Linked DNA regions of Homo sapiens: region 1 is linked to region 2. The links are contacts of gene promoters, found by promoter capture Hi-C in blood cells and fetal thymus (Javierre and others, 2016). All regions are on one chromosome and are shown on one strand. Each heading gives the region's core, a stretch centred on a gene start or on the middle of the fragment in contact. The rest is flanking DNA. Distances are from core to core; before and after follow the strand shown. Region 1 has its middle 50 kb from the start of MAGEB17-AS1. Region 2 holds the start of ZRSR2 (zinc finger CCCH-type, RNA binding motif and serine/arginine rich 2).

The links. The method cuts DNA at HindIII sites, captures the fragments that hold promoters and counts their contacts. A CHiCAGO score of 5 or more calls a contact.
Region 1: a fragment that was not itself captured here is called in contact with the fragment with the promoter of ZRSR2 in region 2 in 1 of 17 cell types (M1 macrophages); the score reaches 5.7 in M1 macrophages.

Annotation. Positions count from the first base shown.
Region 1 is chrX:16,216,336-16,221,135 of GRCh38, reverse strand. No RefSeq gene overlaps it. Among named protein-coding and RNA genes, the nearest start is that of MAGEB17-AS1, 50 kb to the right of the region's middle. The HindIII fragment of the contact is 8,679 bases long and covers 1-4,800 here.
Region 2 is chrX:15,788,991-15,793,347 of GRCh38, reverse strand. It overlaps ZRSR2 (zinc finger CCCH-type, RNA binding motif and serine/arginine rich 2), which reads right to left and starts at 2,864. Exons shown (of 11, transcript NM_005089.4): 1 at 2,812-2,864; 2 at 2,335-2,414. The coding sequence starts at 2,852. RefSeq lists enhancers at 1,377-1,878, 2,537-2,986. The HindIII fragment of the contact is 2,263 bases long and covers 2,078-4,340 here.

The sequences.
Region 1 (4,800 bases), core at 1,616-4,115, 430 kb before region 2:
GCACTTTTGATTTCTCCATTTTACAAGACCTGGATGATTTTTGTCGAAAAATGGGCAAATGGTCTGAGGTGCCTGACGTCCAGGCATTCTTTTACACATCAGTCCCTCCCTAGTCTCTCCTCCCAATGCGACTCGTTCCAAATCTTTCTTCTTTCTCTCCTGTCTGTTCCTTCAGTCTCCACCCCAAGTTCTGAGTCCTTTGAATGCTTCTTTTCTACGGACTCATCTGACCTCTCCCCTTCTCCTCAAGCTGCTCGTCGCCAGGCCGAGCCAGGTCCCAACTCTTCTTCAGCCTCCACTCCCCCACCCTATAACCCTCCTATTACCTCCCCTCCTCACGCCAGGTCTGGCTTACAGTTTCATTCCACGACTAGCCCTCCCCAACCTGCCCAACAATTTTCTTTTAGAGAGGTAGCTGGAGCTGAAGGCATAGCCAAGGTTAATGCTCCTTTTTCTTTATCCAACCTCTCCCAAATCAGTTAGTGTTTAGGCTCTTTTTCATCAAATATAAAAACCCAGCCCAGTTCATGGCCCGTTTGGCAACAACCCTTAGACACTTTACTGCCTTAGACCCAGAGGGCCCAGAAGGCCGTCTTATTCTCAATATGCATTTTATTACCCAACCCACTCCCGACATTAGAAAAAGCTCCAAAAATTAGATTCTGGCCCTCAACCCCACAACAGGACTTAATTGACCCTGCCTTCAAGGTGTGCAATAAGAGAGAAGAGTTGCAATTACTTGCCTCTGCTGTGAGAGAAACCCCAGCCACATCTCCAGCACACAAGAACTTCAAAACATCTGAACCGCAGTGGCCAGGCATTCCTCCAGGATCGCCTCCCCCAGGAGCTTGCTTTAAGTGCTGGAAATCTGGCCACTGGGCTGAGGAATGCCTGCAGCCCAGGATTCCTCCTAAGCTGCGTCCCATCTGTGTGGGACCCCACTGGAAATCGGACTGTCCAGCTCACCTGGCAGCCACTCCCAGAGCCGCTGGAACTCTGGCCCAAGGCTCTCTGACTCCTTCCCAGATCTTCTTGGCTGAGTGGCTGAAGACTGACACTGCCCGATCGCCTCAGAAGCCTCCTGGACCGTCACAGACACTTTGGGTAACTCTTACAGTGGAGGGTAAGTCCGTCCCCTTCTTAATCAATATGGAGGCTACCCACTCTACATTACCTTCTTTTCAAGGGCCTGTTTCCTTTGCCTCCATAACTGTTGTGGGTATTGACGGCCAGTCTTCTAAACCTCTTAAAACTCCCCAACTCTGATGCCAACTTGGACAACATTCTTTTATGCACTCTTTTTCAGTTATCCTCACCTGCCCAGCTCCCTTATTAGGTCAAGACATTTTAACTAAATTATCTGCTTCCCTGACTATTCCTAGGCTACAGCCACACCTCATTGCCGCCTTTTTCCCCAGTTCAAATCTCCTTCACATCCTCCCCTTGTATCTCCCCACCTTAATCCACAAGTATGGGACACCTCTACTCCCTCCTTGGCAACCGATCATGCACCCCTTACCATCCCATTAAAACCTAATCACCCTTACCCCGCTAAATGCCAATATCCCATCCCACAGCACACTTTAAAAGGATTAAAGCCTGTTATCATTTGCCTGCTACAGCCTGGCCTTTTAAAGCCTATAAACTCCCCCTTACAATTCCCCCATTTTACCTGTCCAAAAACTGGACAAGTCTTACAGGTTAGTTCAGGGTCTGTGCCTTATCAACCAAATTGTCTTGCCTATCCACCCCGTGGTGCCAAACCCATATACTCTCCTATCCTCAACATCTCCTCCACAACCCGTTATTCTGTTCTAGATAAACCTAGTTGACCCCATAAATCCTAAATCCTTTCCCCACTCCCCTTTCCATTCCTTAAAAAACAGCCCTAAAAGCTGCTCCCACACTAGCACTCCCTAACTCATCCCAACCCTTTTCATTACACACAGCCAAAGTGTAGGGCTGTGTGGTCAGAATTCTTACACAAGAGCCAGGACTGCACCCTGTAGCCTTTCTGTCCCAACAACTTGACCTTACTGTTTTAGCCTAGCCCTCATGTTTGCATGCAGTGGCTGCCACTGCTTTAATACTTTTAGAGGCCCTCAAAATCACAAGCTATGCTCCACTTACTCTCTACAGTTCCCATAACTTTCAAAATCTATTTTCTTCCTCACACTTAACGCATATACTTTCTGCCCCCAAGACCCTTCAGCTATACTCACTCTTTGTTGAGTCTTCCACAATCACCATTGTTGCTGGCCCAGACTTCAATCCGGCCTCCCACATTATTCCTGATACCACACCTGACCCCCATGACTGTATCTCTCTGATCCACCTGACATTCATTCCATTTCCCCATATTTCCTTCTTTCCTGTTCCTCACCCTGATCACACTTGGTTTATTGATGGCAGTTCCACCAGGCCTAATTGCCACTCACCAGCAAAGGCAGGCTATGCTATAGTATCTTCCACATTTATCATTGAGGCTACTGCCCTGCCCCCCTCCACTACCTCTCAGCAAGCCAAACTCATTGCCTTAACTCAGGCCCTCACTCTTGCAAAGGGACTACTTGTCAATATTTATACTGATTCTAAATATGCCTTCCATATCCAGTACCACCATGCTGTTATATGGGCAGAAAGAAATTTCCTCACTACATAAGAGTCCCCCATCATTAATGCCTCCTTAATAAAAACTCTGCTTAAAGCTGCTTTACTTCCAAAGGAAGCTGGAGTCATTCACTGCAAGGGCCATGAAAAGCCATCAGATCCCATTGCTCAGGGCAACACTTATGCTGATAAGGTCGCTAAAGAAGCAGCTAGCTTTCCAACTTCTGTCCCTCATGGCCAGTTTTTCTCCTTCTCATTGGTCACTCCTATTTACTCTCCCACTGAAGTTTCCACCTATCACTCCCTCTCCACTCAAGGCAGATGGTTCTTAAACCAAAAAAATTTGTATCTCCTTCCAGCCTCACAGGCCTGTTGTATTCATAACCTCTTCCATGTAGGTTACAAGCCATTAGCCTGCCTCTTAAAACTTCTCATTTCCTTTCCATTGTGAAAATCTATCCCCAATCCGCCACTCTTGACTCCCTCTTGGAGTGGATAGATGATCTTTGCTGACAGGACACACTCCAACACTTTCACCCTGATGAAGTCCTATTCTTTACTTTTATACTCACTCTTATTCTCGTTCCCGTTCTTATGCCACCCTCTACCTTTCCCCAGCTATCTCCACCACACTATCAATCTCACTCACTCTCTCCTAGCCATTTCTAATCCTTCTTTAACAAACAATTGCTGGCTTTGCATTTCTCTTTCCTCCAAAATCACCGAGGCCTCGATTTACTCACTGCTGAAAAAGGAGGACTCTGTATATTTTTAAATGAAGAGTGTTGTTTTTACCTAAATCAATCTGGCCTGGTATATGTCAACATTAAAAAAAACTCAAGGATAGAGCCCAAAAACTCTCCAACCAAGCAAATAATTACGTTGAACCCCCTTGGACACTCTCTAATTGGATGTCCTGGGTACTCCCAATTCTTAGTCCTTTAATACCTATTTTTCTCCTTCTTTTATTTGGACCTTGTGTCTTCTGTTTAGTTTCTCAATTCATATAAAAACCACATCCAGGCCATCACCAATCATTCTATACGACAAATGCTCCTTCTAACAACCCCACAATATCACCCCTTACCCCAAAATCTTTCTTCAGTTTAATCTCTCCCACTCTAGGTTCCCACGCTGACCCTAATCTCGCTCGAAGCAGCCCTGAGAAACATCGTCCGTTATCTCTCCATACCACCCCAAAAAATGTTCGCTGTCCCAGCACTTCACCACTGTATTGTTTTGTTTTTCTTATTAATATAAGAAGACAGGAATGTCAGGCCTCTGAGCCCAAGCTCAGCCATCATATCCCCTGTGACCTGCATGTATACATCCAGATGGCCTGAAGCAACGGAAGATCCACAAAATCACTGAAAATAGCCTTAACTGATGACATTCCACCATTGTGATTTGTTCCTGCCCCACCCTGATACATATATTCTCCCCTGCCCTTAAGAAGGTACTTTGTAATATTCTCCCCGCCCTTGAGAATGTACTTTGTACGCCTATCCCAAACCTATAAGAACCAGTGATAATCCCACCACCCTTTGCTGACTCCTTTTTCGGACTCAGCCTGCCTGCACCCAGGTGAAATAAACAGCCTTGTTGCTAACACAAAGGCTGTTTGGTGGTCTCTTCACACAGATGCGTGTGACACTAACAGCTTTAAGTATGAATTATTTTAAGTTTGAAATATTTTATTTCACAGACCCTACAAAAATCTCATGTTAAAATTTGATTCCCAATGTTGGAAGTTGAACCTAATGAGAGATTACTGGGTCATGGTGGCATATCTGTCATGAATGTCTGGGCGCCACCCTCACAGTAATGAGTGAGTTTTCACTCTATTAGTTCCTGCAAGAACTTGTTAAAAAGAGTGAGGCACCCCTCCCTCCCCGTGTCTTTTTGCTTCCTCACTCACTATGTGATCTCTGCACACACTGGCTCCCGTTTGCCTTCTGCCTTGAGTGAAAGCAGTCTGAGGCTTTCACCAGATGCCCAATCTTTCAGCCAGGAGAACCATGAGCCAAATAAACTTCTTGTCTTTATAAATTACTCAGCCTCAGGTTTTCCTTTATAGCAACACAAATGGACTAAGACATGGCACTCGGGCATGCTAAATGCTTTTGAAAATTGAAAGGCCTCAGAAATAAGCCTCAGAATCAAGGTCCCTCTAACCTTGTTCCTCTCCCA
Region 2 (4,357 bases), core at 1,615-4,114:
GCCTGACTCTCCACAGAGGCTCATTCTGAACACATTTTGCTAAGTAAAAAGGAAAAAAAAAATCAAAACAATACAAATACCAGCTGTTATAGGATTTAGTGCAGGAAAAGAAAAAGAGAAAGAAGTTAAAACAAATTTAGAATATATAATATTTAGAATAAAACAGATTAAATGAACAAAGTAAAGTAGCTGAAAATTTCAAGGGGGGAGAGACGAAGTACAATAAGGGCCTCAATAACTCCAACCTATTCTACTTTTCCTTTTATCCCTGATGCTTTGTTCTGCCTCTAGTGGATGAGTTTTCAACTAATAAGACAGAAATGCTAACACAGGTTGCAGTTAAACACACTGCTCCTTCCATTCTAAATATCCCAGTACTGACACTAAAATAATTACTCAGGAACACCAATGGTAAATAAAACCTCTATGGCTATGTTTCTCAAGGTCCAAGAATCCTAGTTACTTGAGGCCATGGTCTCTGGATTTTAAGAATTGTCTAGGATAATTTCATGAGCATATTCTGGATAATGCGGATGACAATCATTATAAGCCAGTACTACTGTGTGATTTCAGTGCTCCCATCTGGATTTATAACTACTACATAATTTTATAACTAAGTCCTAATTTTATTGCATTAAGCAGGTAGATTTAATACATAAATGTTAGGTTTTGCCATGTGAAGGTCAAATGACCATCTGTACAAATAAAGGTTCTACAGTAATTTCATAGAAAAAGTGGTAAATAACTATAAGGCAACATTAGTAGAGGCATTCCAAACTCCCATCAGTGCCATATACATATTGTGAGGAGCATTAGTTTCACATCATCCCTAGCATTACCTGATGTAGATTTAAATTTTACCGAATGTGTAATTTCATTTAGTTTTATAATTTATAAATGTATTTTTATTTGTTTGTTTGTTTTTTGAGACAGAATCTCACTCTGTTGCCCAAACTGAAGTGCAGTGGCAGGATCTCGGCTCACTGCAACCTCTGCCTCCCAGGTTCAACTGATCCTCTTGCCTCAGCCTCCTGAGTAGCTGGGATTACAGGCACCTGCCACCAAGCCCAGCTAATCTTGTATTTTTAGTAGAGGCAGGGTTTCATCATGTTGGCCAGGCAGGTCTCGAACCCCTGACCTCAGGTGATCCATCTGCCTCGGCTTTCCAAAGTGCTGGGATTTCAGGCATGAGCCACCACGCGCCCAGCCCATATATTGTTTTATAGTCAAACAATGGCTTCAGGTCAGGTGTGGTGGCTCATGCCTATAATCCCAGCACTTTGGGAGGCCGAGGTGGAAGGATTGCTTGAGGCCAGGAGTTCGAGACCAGCCCAGGCAACACAGTGAAATCCCGTCTCTACGAAAATTTTAAAAATTAGCCAGGTGGGCCAGGGGCGGTAGCTCACGCCTTTAATCCCAGCACTTTGGGAGGCTGAGGTGGGTGGATCACCTGAGGTCAGAAGTTCGAAACCAGCCTGGCCAACATGATGGGGTTTCACCCCATCTCTACTAAAAATACAAAAATTAGCCGGGTGTGGTTGCGCACGCCTGTAATCCCAGCTACTCGGGAGGCTGCAGCAGGAGAACTGCTTGAACCCAGGGGGCGGAGGCTGCAGTGAGCCAAGATCGTGCCACTGCACTCCAGCCTGGGCAACAGAGCGAGACTCCGTCTCAAAAAAAAAAAAAAAAAAAAAGAAAAGAAAAGAAAAAATTAGCCAGGTGTGGTGGTGAATGCCTGTAGTCCCAGCTACTAGGGAGGCTGAGGTGGGAGGACTGCTTGAGCCTGGGAGGTGGAGGCTGCTGTGAGCCGTGGTTGTGCACATCCCTCCTGGGCAACAGAACAAGACCCTGTCTCAAAAATAAATAAATGAGCTTCATAACTAGTATTATGTTGATATATATTTGAATAACATAATAATTTGGGTAAACCAAGGGTCTCATATTAGTCAAGTTTGAGAAAAACTTGCAAAACGTCTAATTAATACCTTCAACTCCTGCTGGTTTTACGAAGAAAAACATTCACCGAATACTTACTACGTGTGCAAGGACTGTGCTAGCTGCTGTAATTCATGAAGCTTGCAACTGTAATATTAGATACTTTATAAGTTACACAGAATCAGTGGGCGATCATTCACCAAGACTTCCTCTTCCTGCCTTTAGTATGTTAACATTGTTTCTGACATGTGTTTCTAAATAACTACTTGGGGGCAGAAGTCACAGCTATTTTTCCTCCGACACAATATTTGACTTCCTTCTGACACTGGGGCTTCAAGTTAGGGCTGGAGTGGACAGAGCAATTTCACAACACAGAAAACAGAATAAAGAGTCCATCACCTGAGTCTCTCAGTCGAGCAAGTTCCTGCCGACGTTTCTTTCGTTTCTCCTTCTTCAGGGCGGCCCTGTACTTTTTGTGGCTGGAAGATTAAGACATATACACGACGATCAGCGGCTACAATGCAGCGCTGCCCGAGCTCCCCGCTCCTCTGTGCCCAATGAAAGGAAATAGTTCGGGTGCTGAGGAGAGAAACCTTGCTTCCTGTATTTTAATTACAGAACAGCCATCTATCATCGCCTCATCCTCCCACTCCCAGACAGTTCTTCTCCATCCGCCAACCTGATCCTCTCCTCGCTTGCCTGAGCCACAGCCGCCCGTGCAAGTCCGGGGAGGGCACCAGAGCGCGCACCAGGAAGGAATGGAGCTGCCGCGGTGGCTCACTTAGCTTGGCCCAGCTTCTCTTTTCTTCCTGCCACCACATCCTCCATGCCCACGATCGGCCCGCTCGCCTGCTCATCTCCCCGTACGGCGCTTACCTTGGTTTCTCGGGAAACGTCATCTTCTCGGGCGCAGCCATCTTGCCGGCACCGCCCCGCCCCTCCAGGTCTGGCAGGAAAGGGCGGGCCTAAGAGTCGAGACGGGCACGCGCAGGCGCGGGTACCGAGCAACCTCCACCAGCGTGGGACTTGAAACGGAAAGCCGGAGGTACCCTTCGGCGGCTCGTCTTCCAGAACCCTGCTCAAATAAATACCTCCTTCCAGCAAAAATACTCTGGGGCTTTTACCCCGCCCTAGAAGTAATTGTCGCTTCAGCACTTGCCCAGTGCTGTATCACTGTCTCCCTCCTCGCCCTAGCAGGACGTGTTGTGGCTAGGCGGTTAAAGTCGTACTCTGCCGCTTTTCTCAGCATCCACTCATGAAGTCACATCGCGCACAGAGCTGCTCGCCCGGCTTTATTTCCGACCTGTCCAGGTTCCGCGTCCTTCCGCCGATCCACCTATCAGCGCCTCAGACAAAGCTCCAGACTTCGCTCCCTGCCAGTCACACCTGTTCTGGTCCCTTAAGCAAACCTAACTCCCAGGGCTGCAAAGCTGTTACCTCTGCCCCTGAGGAGTTTACAATCGAGGGGGCAGAGAAGAACCAATACATAATATGATGCAGGCAAAGATGAAGTTTACCTAACATAGTCCACCAAGGGATTCAGGGAGAGCTCTCTTTTTTTTCCTTTTTTCTTTTTTTTTCAGTATCACATGCGACTCAACTGCAGTATCAGGGACAGCTTTCTGATGCTAAGAGTTGAGTTTGGAAAGAAGATGCCCTTTACCCAGAAGGAGAAGGGTGGGAATGCAGTTACAGTCAGATCAGCATAAGCAAAGGCGCTGAAAGGTGAAAGTGGAATATGCTGGGAACAGCAAGAATTTTGGCAATCGAATTTATTTATTTATTCATTTCTTATATATTAGAGACAGGGTCTTGTCTTTCACCCAGGTTGGAGTGCAGTGGCGCAATCACGACTCGCTGCAGCTTCGACCTCCTGGGGTCAAGCAATCCTTCCACCTCAGCCTCCCGAGTAGCTGGGAATACAGGCGCGAGCCACCACGCCCGCCCAGCTATCCAATTTAAAGTGCAGTTCGAGGCTGGGTGCAGCGGCTCACGCCTGTAATCCCAGCACTTTGGGAGGCCTAGGCGGGTGGATCACCTGAGGTCAGGAGTTCGTCAGCCTGGCCAACATGGTGAAACCCCGTCTCTACTAAAAATACAAAATTAGCCGGGTGTGGTGGCACATGCCTGTAGTCCCAGCTACTCTGGAGGCTGAAACAGGAGAACTGCTTGAACCCAGGAGGTGGCGGCCGCAGTGAGCCGAGATGGCACCACTGCCCTCCAGCCTGGGCAACAGAGCAAGGCTCCGTCTCAAAAAAACAAAACAAAATAAAGTGCAATTCGAGAATATCAAGGAATATAGTTGTTGTGATGGGCTGGGAGGGCTAGGTTAAGGAGGGCCTGGTGTGCCATGTTAAGACGCTCTGTTTACATTCTGTAGAGACAACAGTGAACCGTTGAAAGCTTTTTAAATAGAGGCTTA